6 separate regions of the Homo sapiens genome follow, and all the other regions are linked to region 1. Evidence: promoter capture Hi-C in 16 types of primary human blood cells and fetal thymus (Javierre and others, 2016). All regions are on one chromosome and are shown on one strand. Each heading gives the region's core, a stretch centred on a gene start or on the middle of the fragment in contact. The rest is flanking DNA. Distances are from core to core; before and after follow the strand shown.

What was found. Contacts are between HindIII fragments. The CHiCAGO score rates a contact against its expected background, and 5 or more counts as called.
Region 2: a fragment that was not itself captured here is called in contact with the fragment with the promoter of C2orf81 in region 1 in 1 of 17 cell types (naive CD4 T cells); the score reaches 5.3 in naive CD4 T cells.
Region 3: a contact is called between a fragment that was not itself captured here and the fragment with the promoter of C2orf81 in region 1, in 1 of 17 cell types (neutrophils). The highest score is 5.9, in neutrophils.
Region 4: a fragment that was not itself captured here is called in contact with the fragment with the promoter of C2orf81 in region 1 in 11 of 17 cell types (activated CD4 T cells, total CD8 T cells, naive CD4 T cells and 8 more); the score reaches 11.8 in activated CD4 T cells.
Region 5: a fragment that was not itself captured here is called in contact with the fragment with the promoter of C2orf81 in region 1 in 1 of 17 cell types (total CD4 T cells); the score reaches 6.2 in total CD4 T cells.
Region 6: a contact is called between a fragment that was not itself captured here and the fragment with the promoter of C2orf81 in region 1, in 4 of 17 cell types (naive CD8 T cells, activated CD4 T cells, M2 macrophages and 1 more). The highest score is 6.6, in naive CD8 T cells.

What each region holds. Positions count from the first base shown.
Region 1 is chr2:74,420,190-74,423,266 of GRCh38, forward strand. C2orf81 (chromosome 2 open reading frame 81) reads right to left here and starts at 1,430. Exons shown (of 3, transcript NM_001316764.3): 1 at 1,354-1,430. The coding sequence starts at 1,371. It overlaps WDR54 (WD repeat domain 54), which reads left to right and starts at 1,541. Exons shown (of 10, transcript NM_032118.4): 1 at 1,541-1,627; 2 at 1,964-2,186; 3 at 2,681-2,743. The coding sequence starts at 1,965. RefSeq lists a silencer at 1,361-1,640 and an enhancer at 2,041-2,220. The HindIII fragment of the contact is 12,224 bases long and covers 427-3,077 here.
Region 2 is chr2:73,731,957-73,735,033 of GRCh38, forward strand. TPRKB (TP53RK binding protein) reads right to left here. Exons shown (of 5, transcript NM_016058.5): 2 at 2,473-2,635; 3 at 207-329. The coding sequence starts at 2,613. Among named protein-coding and RNA genes, the nearest start is that of TPRKB, 3.8 kb to the right of the region's middle. The HindIII fragment of the contact is 4,504 bases long and covers 1-3,077 here.
Region 3 is chr2:73,752,094-73,755,170 of GRCh38, forward strand. No RefSeq gene overlaps it. Among named protein-coding and RNA genes, the nearest start is that of TPRKB, 16 kb to the left of the region's middle. RefSeq lists a silencer at 1,905-2,088. The HindIII fragment of the contact is 4,937 bases long and covers 1-3,077 here.
Region 4 is chr2:73,772,492-73,775,568 of GRCh38, forward strand. DUSP11 (dual specificity phosphatase 11) reads right to left here. Exons shown (of 9, transcript NM_003584.3): 3 at 2,422-2,553; 4 at 1,309-1,432. Among named protein-coding and RNA genes, the nearest start is that of DUSP11, 6.1 kb to the right of the region's middle. The HindIII fragment of the contact is 1,793 bases long and covers 535-2,327 here.
Region 5 is chr2:73,842,669-73,845,745 of GRCh38, forward strand. It overlaps STAMBP (STAM binding protein), which reads left to right. Exons shown (of 10, transcript NM_213622.4): 3 at 2,145-2,220; 4 at 2,499-2,594. All of the region lies in intron 1 of LOC112268419 (a long non-coding RNA gene), which reads right to left. Among named protein-coding and RNA genes, the nearest start is that of STAMBP, 15 kb to the left of the region's middle. The HindIII fragment of the contact is 1,321 bases long and covers 933-2,253 here.
Region 6 is chr2:73,863,545-73,866,621 of GRCh38, forward strand. It overlaps STAMBP (STAM binding protein), which reads left to right. Exons shown (of 10, transcript NM_213622.4): 10 at 1-3,077. Among named protein-coding and RNA genes, the nearest start is that of ACTG2, 28 kb to the right of the region's middle. The HindIII fragment of the contact is 256 bases long and covers 1,415-1,670 here.

The sequences.
Region 1 (3,077 bases), core at 180-2,679:
AAAACTTCAAAATGATAACAGAGGATACGTTTCCTTCCTATGCTCTTTTCTATTTTGTAAGTTCTCTACAATGAGTTTGTTTCCTTTTGTAATCACTTAAAAAAAAAAAAAGACTAGTCCCCAAAACTCACTTTAGAGACATAAAAAGTTTACAAACAATCTCTTGGGAGCTCCCTCAATTCCCCACAACAGTCTCCCTGAACCTGGTTCCTTCCAAAATGTACTTCCAAATGTGATCTTCCCAAACCTTTGCCTATTGCCCCGCTAAAACCTTGTCTCATATCTGTTTCCTAAAATTCATTATCCCCCCAAATCTGCTGTTTCCTAAGTCTTGCAGAACTCAAAATCCCTGAAGTCTCATTAACCCTATCCACCAGTGAGAACAGCCCTGTAGCAAGCACCAGGAGTGGCCCATAGCCCAGGCCAAGCTTGACTAGAGCAGGGCTGACTGGACTGAGTAAAGAGAGTTGTTTCCTTAGACCTCCCCTCCCAGCCTCGCATCTGACACCCGTGATGGTGACCAGAAGGGACAGAGATATTTTTGCACAAAGGCTCTTCAAATCCGTTTTCTTTCTTCTTCTTCTTTTTTTTTTTTTTTTTTTTTTTTTTTTGAGACAGTCTCTCTCTGTCACCCAGGCTAGAGCGCAGTGGCGCGATCTCGGCTCACTGCAACCTCCGCCTCCCGAGTTCAAGCAATTCTCCTGCCTCTGCCTCCCGAGTAGCTGGGATTACAGGCACCGCGCCACCACATCCAGCTAATTTTTTGTATTTTAGTCGAGACGGGGTCTCGCCATGTTGGCCTGGCTGGTCTTGAACTCCTGAGCTCAGGCAATCCTCCCGCCTCAGCCTCTCAAAGTGCTGGGATTACAGGCATGAGCCATTGAGACCGGCCCCGTTTTCTTTATTTTAAAATTGATTGGCTCTTAAACAATTTGACTTTCAAGTGCAGTCTCTGAATTATTTAATATATTTCTTCCTCTTGAAATTCTCGAAATAGATTTTTTCTGTTATCTTCCCTCTCTAAATGCTCATCCATTTAAATACGCACCACCATGTAAGAGACTTACTACATTCATTAGCTGTTTCAAAATCCACTTCCTGTTCTCGGGCTCTACACCACCCACTGACCCTTTCCCTCATGGCTTGAGTGTAACAAAGCGTTTGAGTGGGCACCGTGCAGGTGTAGGTTTTCTGCCCGAGTACCGACGTGGCTTCCTTGGTCATCTAAACTCCCGCGCGGTGGGCGGGAGCAAGTAGGGGCACTGGGCGGCCCAGAGCCAGCCCACTGTTCCCGACACCGACCTTAACGGCCGACCCTGGCTCTGGCGCATCCCCAGCTGAACTGAAGCTCACCGAGCCTTCGTGCGCCATCGCCAACGCGGTCGCAGCAACGCTGGTGTTTCTGCTGCATCCGGGCCGCGTAAGCCACCTAACAGTCGCCTGGGCAACCACGGGCTCGGGGTCGCTCGCCCCGCCCACAGTTGCCCCGGCAACCGCGCCGCCCGCGGCACGTTCCGGCCGCTCACCCCGCCCAAGGGCCGTGCGTACGTGCGTCGTCTCTATGGTGGCGGCGGATTTGGAGGGACCCTACGAACCAGGAGTCAGGCGAGCCGATCTGGGGCTGCAGGTGTTACCTCTGATCTAGGCCGGGGGCTTCAGGGATCCGAGCCGAGGGAGAAAGCCTTGGGGGCTTCATCACACTTATTTGGCTCGCGGGCTTGGGGCCATCGGGTGGTCCTGTGTCATCCCCATTCCTCCTCTGCGATTCCCCCGTCGCCCCAAAACAGCCCTGGGACTCCCCTGTCTTGCTCCTCGAGACCCTCCCCCATCACCGTCCTCTGGGCACCCCATCCTATGACCCAGTCTCAGGCATCTTCCGAAATGCTCGATGATAGCCGCCCTCGGGCATCTCCGCTGCGTCTGTTTGTAGCGCGCCTGGTGATTCGGCTGCACCCCCACACAGGATGTTCCGCTGGGAGCGCTCCATTCCCCTGCGAGGCTCGGCCGCCGCCCTGTGCAACAACCTCAGTGTGCTGCAGCTGCCGGCTCGCAACCTCACGTATTTTGGCGTGGTTCATGGACCAAGCGCCCAGCTTCTCAGCGCTGCTCCTGAGGGTGTGCCCTTGGCCCAGCGCCAGCTCCACGCTAAGGAGGGTGCTGGAGTGAGTCCCCCACTTATCACTCAGGTGAGGCATGGAGCTGGGAGTGATGTTGCTGAACCCAGTCCTACCCCCAGCCTTTTCTCTCCAAACCTTCAGGAGCAGGCATGTCCTAACCTCAGAATCTCCCCAGGCATGTCCTAACCTCAGAATCTCCCCTCTCCTGCCGGGCGCGGTGGCTCACGCCTGTAATCCCAACACTTTGGGAGGCTGAGACGGGCACTTGAGGCCAGGAGTTCGAGACCAGCCTGGCCAACATGGTGAAACCTCTTCTCTACTAAGAATACAAAAAAAATTAACCGGGTGTGGTGGCGTGCACCTGTAATCCCAGCTACTTGGGTGGCTGAGGCAGGAGAATCGCTTGAACCCAGGAGGCTGAGGTTGCAGTGAGCCGAGATGGCGCCACTGCACTCCAGCCTGGGCCACAGAGCAAGACTCCGTCCCCCAAAAAAAAAAAAAAAACAAACAAACTCATCTTCCCTGCTTTGATTTTCTCCCTACACTGATGCACCTCCCTCCAGGTCCACTGGTGTGTCCTCCCCTTCCGAGTGCTGCTGGTACTCACCTCACATCGAGGAATACAGGTAAGAAGAGGACTCTCCTGCTTGCCCCACCAGAGCCTTCTCAGCTTCCCTGCCAGGCTTCCAGACTTTCCCACTTGCCTCTAAACACTTCCAGACTTTTCACATGCTTGGCCCACTCACTCTTTTTCTATTTCTTATCTTCAATCTTTCCATCTTTTCCAGTTTCCAAGTGCCACCTCCAGTATCTGCCCCTTTACTAGCTGTATGTCCTTACACTATTAACTTCTCACTCTCACTGTTGTCCTCTGAAAAAATTAGGATAAAAATAGTACCTACATCCCAGATTTGTTTTGAGGATTAAATGGGCTAAGGCTAACACGGATATGTGAAGTAC
Region 2 (3,077 bases), core at 146-2,645, 690 kb before region 1:
AATTTAGCTAAATTTTTGTTTACTCATATGTAAACTGTCTTAGTAAGAGGCAGGGTTAAACCTCAACTCTCTGTCCAGAGCTCTCTTCACTATTATTTGGGTTTATTACTAACCACTGGCTTGCAGGAATTTAGCCTCCAACCCAACACTGAGGAACACATATGTTATTATGACACGGTCAACAGAAATAGGAAAGTGCACATTACATTGTTATTTGGGGAAAGGTTGAAAATAATTTCAGTAGATAGAGTTCTTGTCTTCATTTTTCCCAGTTTGTAGAGGTGAACTGCTTTGTTTGCTGCCACAAGTATCTGAAATGGATCAACAATCTACCAAAGCAAGGAAAAAGAATTAATTACACATGGAGAATCTGCAGTGCCTGAAAACACATGGTAACTCATGGTTAACTCCAGTGTCAAGCTGTTTTACTTCATCACAATTCTTACGGTCTGTATTTTCAAAACTATTATCCCGGCTGGGCACGGTGGCTCACACCTGTAATCCTAGCACTTTGGGAGGCCAAGGTGGGTAGATCACCTGACGTCAGGGTTCAAGACCAGCCTGGCCAACACGGCGAAACCCTCTCTACTAAAAATACAAAAATTAGTCAGGCGTGGTGGCACGCACCTGTAATCCCAGCAACTCAGGAGGCTGAGGCAGGACAATTGCTTGAACCCGGGAGGCAGAGGTTGCCGTGAGCCAAGATCGCGCCATTGCACTCCAGCCTGGGCAACAAGAGTGAAACTGTCTCAAAAAAAAAAAAAACAAAAAACAACTATTATCCCAAGGGCCTGGGTAGTCAGGAAATCACAGAATTTTAAAGCTGCAAGGAACTTATGCAAATAGTAAAATTTTTTTAAATAACATTAATTGAGGGCTAATATTATGGGCATGATCATATTGCAAACATTTTACTTGTAATATTTTCTTTAATCCTCAAAACTACCCTATGAAATTGACACTATTATTAGTAGTAGTAGCAGTAGTAGTAGTATGTAATTGATGAGGAAATTGAGGCAAAGAATGTCTGGGTTTGAATCCCATCTCTGTCACCTATCACCTAGGAAACTTATGCAAGTTCATTAGCATTTTATTTGTTAGAGACCGATGAAACAGTATTCACTCCATAGGCTGTTGTGAAGATTAAGCAAGTTAGTATACGTAAAGCACTTGGAACAATGCTAGGAATGCAGTAAGCACTATATAAAGGTTGGTTATGTCTTGTTCAAAGGCCTAAGTAGTAGGTCTGGGATTAATTCCCGGTAACATGATCGCACTGCGTGTGCCCTGTTTTTTTGTTTTTTTTTTTTTTTGGAGACAGACAGAGTCTCTCGCTCCATTGCCCAGGCTGGAATGCAGTGGCTCAATCTCAATTCACTGTAACCTCCGCCTCCCAGGTTCAAATGATTCTTGTGCCTCAGCCTCCCGAGTAGCTGGGACTACCAGCACACACCACCACACCCAGCTACTTTTTGTATTTTTAGTAGAGACACGGTTTCACTATGTAGGCCAGGCTGGTCTCAAACTCCGGGCCTCAAGCAATCCACCCACCTTGGCCTCTGTGTGTACTCTTAACCACTACACTATTCCTCCTCTACAGACTGTCTTGTTAGGAACCCCCATTTTAAAGATGAGAAGCTGGAGATCCAGGCATTTCCCATATTAGACCCAGACCACAACCTTTCCTATTTCCTAGGGCAGGACCTGGCACTTCTGCCTCTATTCACTGTTATAGTCAAAGTTGGCTGCATCTGACTTGGACAAGAATTTTTTCCCTAACCGTGACAGATTTTTAGGCTACCCTATAACATCACAAATATTAATGTATACTTAAATGCCCTGTATGGCTCATTCATTCTTTTTTTTTTTTTTTTTTTTTGAGGCGGATTCTTGGTCTGTTGCCCAGGCTGGAGTGCAGTGGCACAATCTCGGCTCACTGCAACCTCTGCCTCCCAGGCTCAAGCGATTCTCCTGCCTCAGTCTCCTGAGTACAGGTGCCCACCACCATGCTCAGCTAATTTTTGTATTTTTAGTAGAGACAGGGTTTCACCATATTGGCCAGGCTGGTCTCAAACTCCTGACCTCATGATCTGCCTGCCTCGGCCTCCCAAAGGGCTGGGATTACAGGCGTGAGCTACCATGCCTGGCCATTTTTTTTTTCCAGACAGAGTTTTGCTCGTCGCCCAGGCTGGAGTGCAATGGCGCAATCTTGGCTCACTGCAACCTCTGCCTCCAGGGTTCAAATGATTTTCCTGCCTCAGCCTCCCGAGTAGCTGGGATTATAGGCGCCCGCCACCACGCCCAGCTAATTTTTGTATTTTTAGTTGAGACAGGGTTTCACCATGTTGGCCAGGCTGGTCTTCAACTCCTGACCTCAGATGATCCACCCGCCTCGGCCTCCTAAAGTGCTGGCATTACAGGCGTGAGCCACCGCACCCAGCAGGCTCATTCATTCTTAAAATTTATATTTACCACTGTAGGATTTATCAGTGATCCATCGATGGTGCCTTCCATGGCCTTTCTTCTCAAGTCTCCCGCATTTTTTACATCTTTAAATAACAGAAGGGTTACCCTGCATTCGGGAAATAGGTCCAGCTGATGTGTTAACTGCATTTCACAGATAAGCAGGATTCTACTGCACACAAAATGAAAAGACCAAAAGATTTCATTTAAAAGTTAACATCAGAACTCATTTCTTAATAAATATTCAAAAACTTTGAAAGTAACTTGATAAAAGTGTTAAACTAGAAAAATCCATCGCCAAAGCCCATTTGGCATCCTCATGAGATGTTGTCTTCCTAACCCTTCTGAGTTGTTCTGTTGTCATCCCCAGGGAAACGCCAAGGGGCCCAGCTGGTTGCTGTTTGTTCAGATGAGGCAGGCTCAGGTGCATGGTTGAAGGGCTGCTTCCCCAGCAGACAAGTAGGAGCAGAATGTCAGGAATTTTTTAAACCAGAGGTTGCTTACGGTATTAATGAAGTCTTACTCTATCTTAGTCTTTTTAACTTCCTGATCTCATCATTTTATTTATATTTTAGGAAGGCCTAGACATAAATATTAAGGAAGAAAATAATTTT
Region 3 (3,077 bases), core at 394-2,893, 670 kb before region 1:
GGTCTCGCCTTCCTGCAACTGACAGGAAACCCAATTTGGCCTGGGACCCACTGGTCCCTTAGTAGGGCAGTTTCCTCTGTGTCAATTCCCCACTGTGGGACTTGAATGGACAACAGTTTGGCATGATGTGGTTACATTTCCTTTTCCCACTTTGGAGCTGTTCAGTGGGAAAACAATATCTTTGGAAAAACAATAATCCCCCCTATCCCAACCCAAGCAAATGGCTGGGCTATTCTTGTCTATATTTCTGACCTACCACCCGACAAGGGCAGATACTCACTTTGTTAAAGTGCTGCTCACAGCAGAAGAAAGGCATGTAGTCACAGAAAAGGCTAGGGAAGAAGCAAATCGGCTCCATCTGGAGGCAGGAAACAATCACCCCTGGCCAATAGACTCAGTCCCTAACACAGAGACCAGGTGCGATGTAAATGGTGGGGCCTTTCCCACTTAGGACACTATGAGAACCACATCCTTGAAGGTTTGAGGAAAGGGGTTACTCAGGTTAAGAGCCTCAATAAGGTACAGGAAGTACAGCGGCAAGCATATGAGGACCCTTTGTAATTCCCAGAAAGACTCCATCAGACATGTGGAAAGTAGGTTGACGCTAACTAACCCTGAGGCACCGGACAATCAGAGAATGGTCAATGTGACCTTTATCAGCCACAGTGCCCTGATATTCAAAGAAAACTGCAAAAGGTAAATGGGATCCTTGGGTTGCCAATCTCACATTTAGTGGACTTAGCTTTTAAAGTGTACTATGCTCAGGATGAGGCTCAGGAAAGTGCAAATTGAAGCAACAAGTAACTCACTGGCAGCTGTGCTTGACTACCAACCTAGGGGAAAAGGAAGAAATCAAAGAGCGGCTCACGCCCCCTTCAGAAAAAAAACCAATATGCCTATTGTAAGAAGGAGGGACACTGGAAAAAGGGCTGTCCCAAATTGACCAAAGCAGCTAGCAAGTGCAGTGTCCCTCAAAATCAGATGAGGAGAGAGAATAATATTTAGATGAAGACTGATGTGTCCCAGGGACTCCCTTAGACTTGGAGCAACCAGTGGCTATATCCCCACAGGATTCCTAGATACAACTGACAGTGGGGAACAGAATGATTGACTTTTTACTTGACACAGTGCCACATATTAATTAATTAACAATTGTCTCTCTCCAGCTTTGGGAAAAACCATTACTGTTACACGGATATTGGGAGACACCATTATCCCTTTCTACAATCTTCAGGTTACCATTTACGAGAGACCGGCCTAGGGCATAGTTTCTTGTACATGCTTAATGCCCAGTGCCCCTCCTGGGCTGGGATTTGCTTGCCAAATTGTATGCTCAACTTGTCTTTCCCCCCAGATGCCTAGATATAATGATTCCTTCTGAACAAGTTTGCAGGTTTCAAATACTCCTGCTGCAACCAGAAAACGAAGAGGTTCAGGACATTCCAGAAGAAATTCTCACACAGGTAAGGAGAGATGTTTGGGCCCAAGGGAAGCCAGGGAGAGTGGTCACAGCCAAACCCATAAAAATTAAAAGAGAGACACAGAATACCCATTAAAGGAAGTGGCATGAAAGGGTATTCAACCACTCTTGGAAGGCTTTTTTGGCACAAGGACTGATTTGGTCCTGTAATTCTCCCTTTAACATTCCTGTTCTACGGTGGGCAGCAAGCCACCCAGGTGCTGAGGCAAGAGACCGAGGGCACAAGTTGTTCCAGTATAATAAAATATATAAAACAACAAGAGTTATACTAGATCTAAATCATAGACATGATTATATATGAATATCATTAATCATTAGTTTGTAGCAATTACTCTTTATTCCAATACTGTAATAATCCTCGCTCTATAATCATAACCTAGGAAAAACCAGGCCATACAGAGATAGGAACCGAAGGGACATAGTGAGTGAGAAGTGATCAGAAGACAAGAGTGCAAGCCTTCTGTTATGCCCGGACAGGGCCACCAGAGGGCTCCTTGGTCTAGTGGTAATGCCAGCGTCTGGGAAGACGCCCATTGCCAAGCAGACCGTGGTCTAGCAGTAGCATCAGTGTCAAGGAAAAACACCCGCTACTTAGCAGACCGGGAAAGGGAGTCTCCCTTTCCCTGGGGGAGTTTAGAGGAGATTCTACTCCTCCACCTCTTATGGAGGGCCTGACATCAGTCAGGCCCGCCCGCAGTTATCCGGAGGCCTGACCCTGTCTCCCTGTGATGCTGTGCTTCAGTGGTCACGCTCCTAGTCTGCTTTCAAGTTCCATCCTGTACACCTGGCTCTGCCTTTTAGATAACAGTAGCAAAATTAATGAAAGTACTAAAAGTCTCTGATATGCAGAAATAATGGCGTAAGCTGTCTCTCTCTCGCTCTCCCTCTCTCTGCCTCGGCTGCCAGGCAGGGAAGGGCCCCCTGTCCAGTGGACACGTGACTCACGTGACCTTATCAATCACTAGAGATGACTCACACTCTTTACCCTGCCCCTTTTGCCTTGTATCCAATAAATAACAGTGCAGCCAGGCATTCGGGGCTACTACTGGTCTCTGCATCTTGGTGGTAGTGGTCCCCCAGGCCCAGCTGTCTTTTATCTCTTTGTCTTGTGTCTTTATTTCTACAATCTCTCGTCTCCACACATGGGGAGAAAAACCCACTGACCCTGTGGGGCTGGTCCCTACATCTTACCATCATGCAAGTCCCATTAAGACAACTACAGTTTCGGCTGGGCGTGGTGGCTCACGCCTGTAATCCCAGCACTTTGGGAGGCCGAGGCGGGCGGATCACGAGGTCAGGAGATCAAGACCATCCTGGCTAACATGGTAAACCCCATCTCTACTAAAAATACAAAAAAGTTAGCCAGGCGTGGTGGCAGGCACCTGTAGTCCCAGCTACTCAGGAGGCTGAGGCAGGAGAATGGCTTGAACCTGGGAGGCGGAGCTTGCAGTGAGCCGAAATCGTGCCACTGCACTCCAGGCTGGGTGACAGAGCGAGATTCGTCTCAAAAAAAAAAAAGACAACTACAGTTTGTACAAGACTTAGGGCCAGTAATGAAACAGTCTAGGACATACACCCTATGGTAACTAACCCCTAT
Region 4 (3,077 bases), core at 181-2,680, 650 kb before region 1:
AATCAGTATAACGTGAACAACTAAGATTTAAAAATGTGTTCTCATGTATTCATAAGGACCTCCTAGCCCTCACAGAACAGATGAAGTGCTATATAAAAATTTCACAGAAAAGAGCCTGGAAGCAGTGAATAGGCCATCAGCTGTACCCTCATATCTTAAAAGGTAGTATTTCTGTGACAACAGCTTATACAAATGGGAAAGCCAAACCTCTCAAGTTTTAAAGTTAAAGTACAGGGGAAGATCTGTGAACAAGGTTTAACATAATTAAAAGCTAGTGTCCACATTAAGTGAGCGACTAGGTTACAATTTGAAATTTTATCTTCAAACCCACTGATCCAGTCTCTATCTCTCACCTTCCATTCCCTATCTTCCCACCTCTGTCTCTATTCTTTCTCCACTACTCCATCACATTTTTTAAAAAGGAGTATTTACTGTCAGATTTATGTAACAAAGTGTACACTCCTCAAGCTAAATTTGGAAAGAAGGCAAATGAAGCCTCTGTCCTGTGGGTGTCAGTGGCTTTCCAAAGATAAAAGCTTCTTCAGTCTTAAAATATGACAAATATCATGTTCTTTCTGGCAGAGAGATGCCAGAAAAAGGCAACTGGATCCTTAAGATAAAGAAGCTGTTAAGTTCTATTTTCAAAAGAGTAAGGTAAATCTTAAAGCAGGAACAAGAAAGCACCAGCCTTTGGCTTAAGTTCTCCCATGTGAAGAATAAGAGGTGGTGGTATCCTTCCCCATCTGTACTCAAAGCGGAAAAACAGCAGAAATATCTTTTTTTTAATTATACTTTAAGTTTTAGGGTACATGTGCACAACGTGCAGGTTTGTTACATATGTATACATGTGTCTTAAATACATATGACAAAGGGGCAATTCCACTGGTGCACTCTTTCTTGTTTTGCTTCTAGGGGTCCGTCCCATTCTTAATCTTTGCCCTTTCTTGTCTCTTTCACATAACTCTAAGACTCAGAGTTTTTTAATCTTTTCTTCTACTTCTCACTTCTTAACCAATATAGAAGACAAAAATAACATTTTAATTTTATATATTTCTCATTCAAATTAAAAAAGAAAGATGAGCCAGTTCAGTTCATATTTTGCACTAAAACTAATTTAACATTCCAAAGTTAAATTATTTGTGATCAACAAAAGGAAAAACATCTTACCCTATTAGCACCATCTGACATTTTCATCACCTTAGCATCATTAAATACAACAGGTCTGAGGTTGGAACTATAAAAAAATACCAAAAATCCCCAACCCCATTCATAATGCACACCACAGTTCAGGTAAGAACAAAAACTCACCATTATCTTTATTTTCTTTCAAAAACCCATTAACAGCGTGTTTGAATTTAAAAATAGTCTCATCATCAGGCACTTGATGTCCAACTGTAAAAATTTTTAAGTAAGGAACAGTTTCTGGCAAATCCTATAAAGCAAAACCATAAAAGATGTGTATTATTTCACTTGTAGAGAAATAATTAAAGAGTAATTAGGGGACCCAGAATATAAGCCAAGAGATTATAACAAACTTAATATGCCAATATCAGTATACACAATTCTGATAAAAGAGCCATTTTTTCCAACACTGCTTCAACCAGGAAGTATCACTTGATTTTCAATAAAACTACATAATAGATAGTCACTAGGTATACAAAACTGAAAGCAAATTCCATGTGAATGAATGCATATTTAACTATAAATTATATAAACAGTTCCATTTAATATTTTATAATTCAAGGGCCAGTGCCTTCATAAAGCAGCTATGATTTAAGTAGAAGAGTAGAGAATAGAGTCAGAAGAACTTGGATTTGAATTGTGAGATAGAGGGAATTCCAGGCACTATTGAGAACCGATATTCTTGGGGTGGGAGAAAAGTAGATACAGATAAAAGACAGAAGAGGCTAAGTCAAAATCATTTTAACCATCCACAAGTGTATAGTTCAGTGGCATTACATTCACAGTATTGTGTAACCATCACCACTGTCTATACCCAAAACTTTTTCATCATCCCCGACAAAAAGACTCTGACCACTAAACCATAATTCCCTTTTCTCCCCACCTCATAGATCCTTTAGTCTGCTTTCTGTCTCTGTGAATTTGTCTATTCTAGGTACTTCATACAAGTGGAATCATATATTTGTCCTTCTGTGTCTGGTTTATTTCACTAAGCATGTTTTTAAGGTTCATCCATATTGTAGCACGTATTAAATCTATTCTTTTTTATGGCTGAATAATATTCCATTTAAGACAGCAATTAAAAACATGTAATTAGAGAAATCACTTGGTTCTCTTTTAAACTTACTACCCATCAAAGAAGGCCAAGCTTCACATTAGCACAAGATGATTACTGAATTACTATAAATTATTTTAGGATCAGAAGGAAGAAAGTTCTTTTCATTGAAGGGTTCCACTTACCTCTGGTTTATAATAGCGTTGAGTATATGTTAAATCAATAATCAGTCCAAGTTCTTCATTTTGTTCTCGGATTTTGTTAAAAAGATCCAAAGGGGAAAAGCATTCTTCTGGAGCAAGTTTCTTTTCAAAACTCTGTCACAGAGAATGAAATAAGAGCAAATATGTGCTTAAAATCCTGTACTACATTAGGCATTTATTCAAGTCCTGTGATGCTAACATACAACGAGATTCAAAGGAAAGTTTCCATTCTCCTGGAACATAGAAGGTATATTACAACAATCCTTTCTTCCAGAGTGGTCAGAAAGAAAAAAATAAGCCCACTTCTATATATGTATTTCTGTATTTGTTTCATGTTGGTCTCCTAATCAGACTGTAATCTCCCAGATTTTATTCACCACTGTATCTCCAGCTCCAGGTGGAGTGCTTATCATATTTAGTGCTTATAAATATTTCTTTTCTTTTTTTTTTTTTTTTTTTGAAACAGGGTGTTGCTCTGTCATCCGTCATCCAGGCTGGAGTGCAGTGACACAAACATGGCTCACTGCAGCCTCCACCTCCTGGGCTCAAGCAATACTCCCACCTCAACCTCACAAGTAGCTGGGACTACAGGCATGAACCACCACACCTGGCCTTTTTTTTTTTTTTTTAAAGAGATA
Region 5 (3,077 bases), core at 343-2,842, 580 kb before region 1:
AAAGTTGGTTTTGTTATATGTCATTGTGCTTAAAGTCACAATTTCCAAGAACCTATCAACATTAAGGACTTACTGTGTATATGTACATACTTGTACATATATGTAATGTTTACTCATCAAATATTTATTGAGTGCCTCTTTATACAAGGCACTGTGCTGGCTTCCAAGGAGTATACAAAGAAGCATGAAACACAGAAATCTCTGGCCTCAGGAAGCTCGCAGTGTAGTTCTATAATAAGAGCATAAGTAAAAATAAAACATAGTGTTTATATGACATAGTACTTTCTTAGCTGATTCAGGCCTCAATACAAAGCACATTCAGCCTGCTAAAGGTAGTAAATATTAATATGTATCTTGGCTTTTGGGGCTAAGATGAGAGTTCTACTGAATCATCTATCAGTCTCTAAAATATAAGAAATATGTCTTATTTATCTTAATAGATTCTTCAGGACTTTATGGTTTGAACAAATGAATCTGTATTTCTTTTAAATATAGACTTCAAGGAAACTGTTTTATATCTTTCTTTTTTTTTTTTTTTTTCCAAATAGAGATAGGATCTCCCTCTGTCACCCAGGCTGGAGTGCAGTGGTGTGATCAAAGCTCACTGTAACCTCAGACTTCTGGGATCGAGAGATCCTCCTGCCTCAGCCTCCCAAGCAGCTGGGACTACAGATGCATACCACCACACCCAGCTAATTTTTGTGTTTTTTTATGTTTTGTTATATATGTTTGTGTATGTATATATATATATGTATATATATATATAAATTAAAAAATATAAATAGAGACAAGGTCTCACCCTGTTACCCAGGCTGGTCTTGAACTCCTGGGCTCAAGCAGTCTTCCTGCCTCGGTCTCCCAAAGTGCTGGGATTACAGGCATGAGCCACCGCACCCAGCCTCTTTTATATCTTCTTCATGAACCCAAAAGGAAGCTTTTTAAAGAACCATTTTTATTTTAGAGTCCATCCCTGCCTTGAGGAGCCTTATCAAGTTGGATCAAAATGAAACTTGTGTGCCTAATATAGAACTGAAGGATGAGGACTTATCTTTAGAAAGTTTGTTTTGGTGGGGATCATCTTTTTTCTTTATTGAGGATTCTTCTTCCAATTACTTCTGCCCCATGGGCAGTAAGTAGAAAAGAGTTTATCCCAATTACAATATAATATTTTAGAGCTATCAGCAAGCTACCTTCAATTTATTTTTTTATCTCAGTTTCTGTGTATTACAACTTAATTCTGTTAAAAGACATCTTTGTTCAGAATCCCTCCAGTAGTTCTAGACATTCCAGAATCCGTATGGAAGAAGTATGGTGTAGTGGTTAAAAGAATAGGCTCTGGAGCCAGCCTGCTCATACTGAAATTCTGAATCTGCCACTTTCTTTCTGTGACAGGTTACTGGACTTTTATTTATTTTCACTGCCCCTAAGTAGATGTCTTAAATGTTAGAGATTTGTGAATTAATTAAGTTTATTCTCCCCACTGAGCTTTAGAGCCATGGACAAGAACCAAAAGATGAAATCTAGCATCTTATATTTACCTAAGCACTTTTCATCAAAGACAGTGCATGCTAACATGTAATATGCACATACTACATGCATAGAACACATGCACTAAGTATTTCCATGCATTTTTGTATGATGCAAAGTAGTATTCTTCTTTGAAGGAACACGAATCCCAAAGGAAAAAAGCCAAAGTTAAAGGTTACATAAGAGCTAGAAGGAGTAAGGAAACATGGTTTTCTCTTGCTTCCTGCCCATGGCTGCCAAACGGTTCTCTGAAGACTGCTATGTGACAGAAGCCCTTTCCTTTGAAAACCTGTCACGTCACAACAAGAAAAAGATCTCTTTCTTTGGAGGTACATTTTTGGGCACAAGAAAGGCTTTTTAAAATTTTTTTGGCCATCTTTTTCATTGTAGGAGTCTGGTGCTTGCTGCCTAGTTTGGGAGTAGAGGAAAAGACTCTGGCTCTTTAGGGGGATAGAGATGGGAAAGGAGCATGGCCCAGCTGGGTGTATTAGCTCTCCCTCCGCTGCACTTCTGGAACCTTTCATATAAGGGCTTCAGGATAAGGGGGTTGCATAGCTTTAGGGTCTTATGGACATTTGGACCATTTGCTTCATAATCATTTTGAACTGTTTCCTTAGGCTCTTTATTGAGAAACTACCAAAACATCGAGATTACAAATCTGCTGTCATTCCTGAAAAGAAAGACACAGTAAAGGTGGGTCTTCACTTTCATTGTTGCCCATCTAAAAGCTTCAGAGCAGCACAGACTGACTTCAAGATAAAAGTAGTAGTCTCTGCATCTGAGTACCAGATCCTGCAATAGGAGATAAGGCCATTTCACCACAACAGTTCTGAAGTAGCAGGTATGGTACAGTAGGGGGTATTTTAAATCATTTTGGGAAATGTTGCAGTCACCAACTTGACTTAAGTCTTCTTTTGGATTCTGTAATTTTCTGGCATTGTTCTAATTCTATTTTCTGTTTTGTGTCTCAGAAATTAAAGGAGATTGCATTTCCCAAAGCAGAAGAGCTGAAGGCAGAGCTGTTAAAACGATATACCAAAGAATATACAGAATATAATGAAGAAAAGGTCAGTATATAACAGCTAAGAAGAAAATTATTTTGCTTTTTTAGGCTGTGCCCTGGGATTGTAATATGACATTTCAATATATCCTGTGCTTTTAATGTGCTGTTTCACCTTTTTTGGGCAAAGACCAGAAACTCAAAAAAGTAGAACACCAGTGGTTAGGCTCAGGGTTGTAACACAGATATAGCCTATTTGTCGAAGAGAGTGACTTGAGGGACAGAAAATCTGTCGCCTACCTGCTATGTCTAGAGTGAGAATCATAAGAACAATGAACATTCTCTCCAAAACATAGGTTTTTAGATCAGAGAATTTGAGGGTTGGATTCACATTTGGTTATACCTGAAGCTATTTATAAGAATTGACTTTTCAAGCTATTTTTTTTTTTTTTTTTTGAGACAGTCTCACTCTGTCGCCTAGGCTGGAGTGCAGTGGCACGATCTCAGCTCACTGCAACCTCTGCCTCCCCGACTCAAGTGATTCTCCTAC
Region 6 (3,077 bases), core at 293-2,792, 560 kb before region 1:
AAAGAGCCCAGTTCTCTATATTCTTTTTCTTCTCTTGGGTTCTTAATTCCCCATATAGTGGAAATTCCTTCTTTGCTGTTTTGGTATGGGTGGGTCTGGGGGCCAGCTGGGCTTGGACAAGCCATTTCCTGCTGCAGCCCAGAGCAGCCTGGCTGTTCCACCTTGCTCTAAACAGTCCTGAAATTGCCCAGTCCTCTGCTTTTGGGAAATCCATCCCCTTCTTCCCATTCTTTGTCTACCACTTAGCTTAGGGCTTTCTTACCTTTTATTTCGACTGTAGCCGTTGGCTTTTACCAAGTCTCTTTGTTTTTAGCATTTCTTCATTCCAGTCTGTTCTGCACACTTTGATCAGGAGAAGCTTCTCACATTCCAGCCATGTTCATGTTTTCTCTCTTGCTCAAAAACCTGCAATAGCTTCCCATTGCTGAAAATCTAAATTTAGCTTTTAGTCAGAACTTTCCACTTAAAGTTCTTACCCCTGGCTATATATTCAAATATCTAGGGAGCAATTTAAAAAATACTGATGCCTGTGTTCTACCCCCCACCAATTAAAGCTGAATCTCTAGGGTGGAGCCTCAGATGTTGTTTCTGCATTTGTCTTTCAAGCTGCTAGAATTCTCAAGTACAACCAGGGTTGACAACCACTGCATTGGTCTTTGATACCTAAGAATTGTGAGCTCTCTTATCCGTCTCTGCCCACCAAAGACATTCAGCCAGGTCAACAACATATCATACGTTGCAACCACATTGATCACAGACTGATCACCAAACTGCTATATTTTCTTTTCTCTTCCTCTAGGCACAAGATATCTTAGTGGCTAGATGGGTGCAGGAAATCAGTCTGTAGATCCCTCTTCATATCTGCTGCAGCCTAGCCACTGCAGAGGCACTCTGCATAGGATGGTCTAAGTGTCTCTGTCTTCATCTTACCTCTGTGGAGGAGACGTGGAATCAAGCCAGCCCACAAGCCCTGAGACTGGATAGGCCGGAGAGAAAGAGGAGTAGCCAGAGCGGTCGGGAAAAGAGGAAAGGAATACTGTGGGTAAAAGGGACAAAGACCACGCAACCTGAGGAAAGACATTGTATTGAAAGGGTAATGACTATTTGGCTAAAGGGACTGACTCCTGGGTTCCCGAGGCTCAAAGACCAGGAGACTTTTCCACTCTTGCAAGCTGCACAAGTACCATACTTAGTGTTCTGGGCTGAGAGGGGAGACAAAAGCATCGTCAGGTTGCCAAACAATGTCCCAGTTGCCCTGGGAGGCACAAACCTACCAAAGTGCCATAGGCCAGGTGCAGAGAGAATCAGAGGAGCTGATTTGCTTGGGGTCAGAGCAGAGCTGGGTTTTTTCAGATGATCACTTTCACATACTCCTTGTTAAATGGGACCAAAGGGGAAGAAGAAGAAACCCTTAAGCTTTTGTAATATTGTCTTGGGTACCAGATACCATAAAAGGCAGCATGAGAGAAACATTCCCTTGGGCCAGTGTCATGGTGGATTTTCTTGCTTGAGAGGCAAGGATTTCAGCTTTCATTTGGTACCACAGAATTTAAAATTGTAAGTGCCTATCCCTTTTGACTGTTGATGGCTTCTTTGGGGTTTTAGTTACCCCAGTTGAAAGAGAAATTTTTCATATTGGGGTTGAGAAGAATGGAGGCTATTAGGAGCAAAGCTTTAATGAGTGAAAGTCTGGTGAATCCTGCAATTTTGATATGTTTCCAGTGGATTTTGAGAACACAGTTTTAGGACCAGAGTAGATGTTGTTCCCTAGAAAATAGAGTCAGCTATTGATATTGTGCCTCCCATCCCTCATATCTCAGTGTTTTAACCCCACCTGAGTTTGGAGACCAGTTTGTCCAAGGATCTTTCAAACATGTGAGCCCAGAGTAGAACTTCTGAGTCAAGGATCATGTCTTTTTCTGAGGAGCTTTGCTTGGGGCACTGGAAATCCTGTTTAGATCAGGACTATTGGAATATTATCCTCTCCAGGGGAAGTGCCAGGTTGAACATTTAAGGCTTTGCTTCTAGGCCCAGCTATACATTCACCAGCAAATCACTTAACTTCCTAAATTTCTTTAAAATCTGTAAAATGGGATCAGTCTAATATGCCTACCTCAAATGATGACAGAATGACATCTATATGCATATGAGGCCTACGTTAGTTGAAAGATGCTATAAAGATATAAGGGATTTGTTACTTGTCTTTCTTGAAATGTTACAGTTGGGGTGCGGTTGCTTCTATCTTCTGGACCTCTGCCCATTCAGCATACAGCTAGAGGAATCTTTGGGCAGATCCACATTCTTTAGCACTAGCTAGGCTTTGACTCCAAAGCTATCTGGTCTACCTTGATGTTCTGAGCAGGAAAACTGAGGACCTCAAGAACCATTCCAAATTTCTACTCATTCTCCCTAAGACCCAGAGCAGACCCAGGACCTAAAGAAATTACATCATCTCTATTTTCCCTTGGCTCCAGCCCACTCTTGTTTGAACCTCCCACTTTTGTTGTTCCAACTACTTCTTGAGATGAAGGAAGGGCAGAACATTGGCCCTCTTCACTGAAGTCTTCACCCCTTAATCCAGGGTTCAATTTTTAGTTCACCTTAGCCTGTTTGAGATTAGAAGCTGGGCCTTAACTTACAGGTGTGTCCGGCATCATTCAATCAGCCTGTTAGATCCAGAATCCAGCACTGTGACGCTACATAACCATGGGCTCTGTCCTTCCAGTTCCTTTAGTGCCTTCCCTCACTGGTAGGTTCACTCTGAGGGCTTCCTTCCTTGAACTCCAGTGGCAACTATAGTCTGTTTCCCACAATTTGTTGTGTGTGTTTTTTGTTGTTTTGCAGCGTTTTCATATTGTCTTTTATGTAAGTCATGTTTCTGAACTATCGTATAAATTTCATTAGGGTAAGAATCATGTTTGCTTTATGCACTGTGTAACATGCCTTGCAGTCAGTATAGGCACTTAACCTTATTGATCAGTTGTTCCTTGGTGTTGAATAATGTGTTAGGTAGCCAGGTGGACCTGTGTCCTAGCCTGGAGAAGCTCTATGTCACCTTGTAGGAAGCCATCTGAATT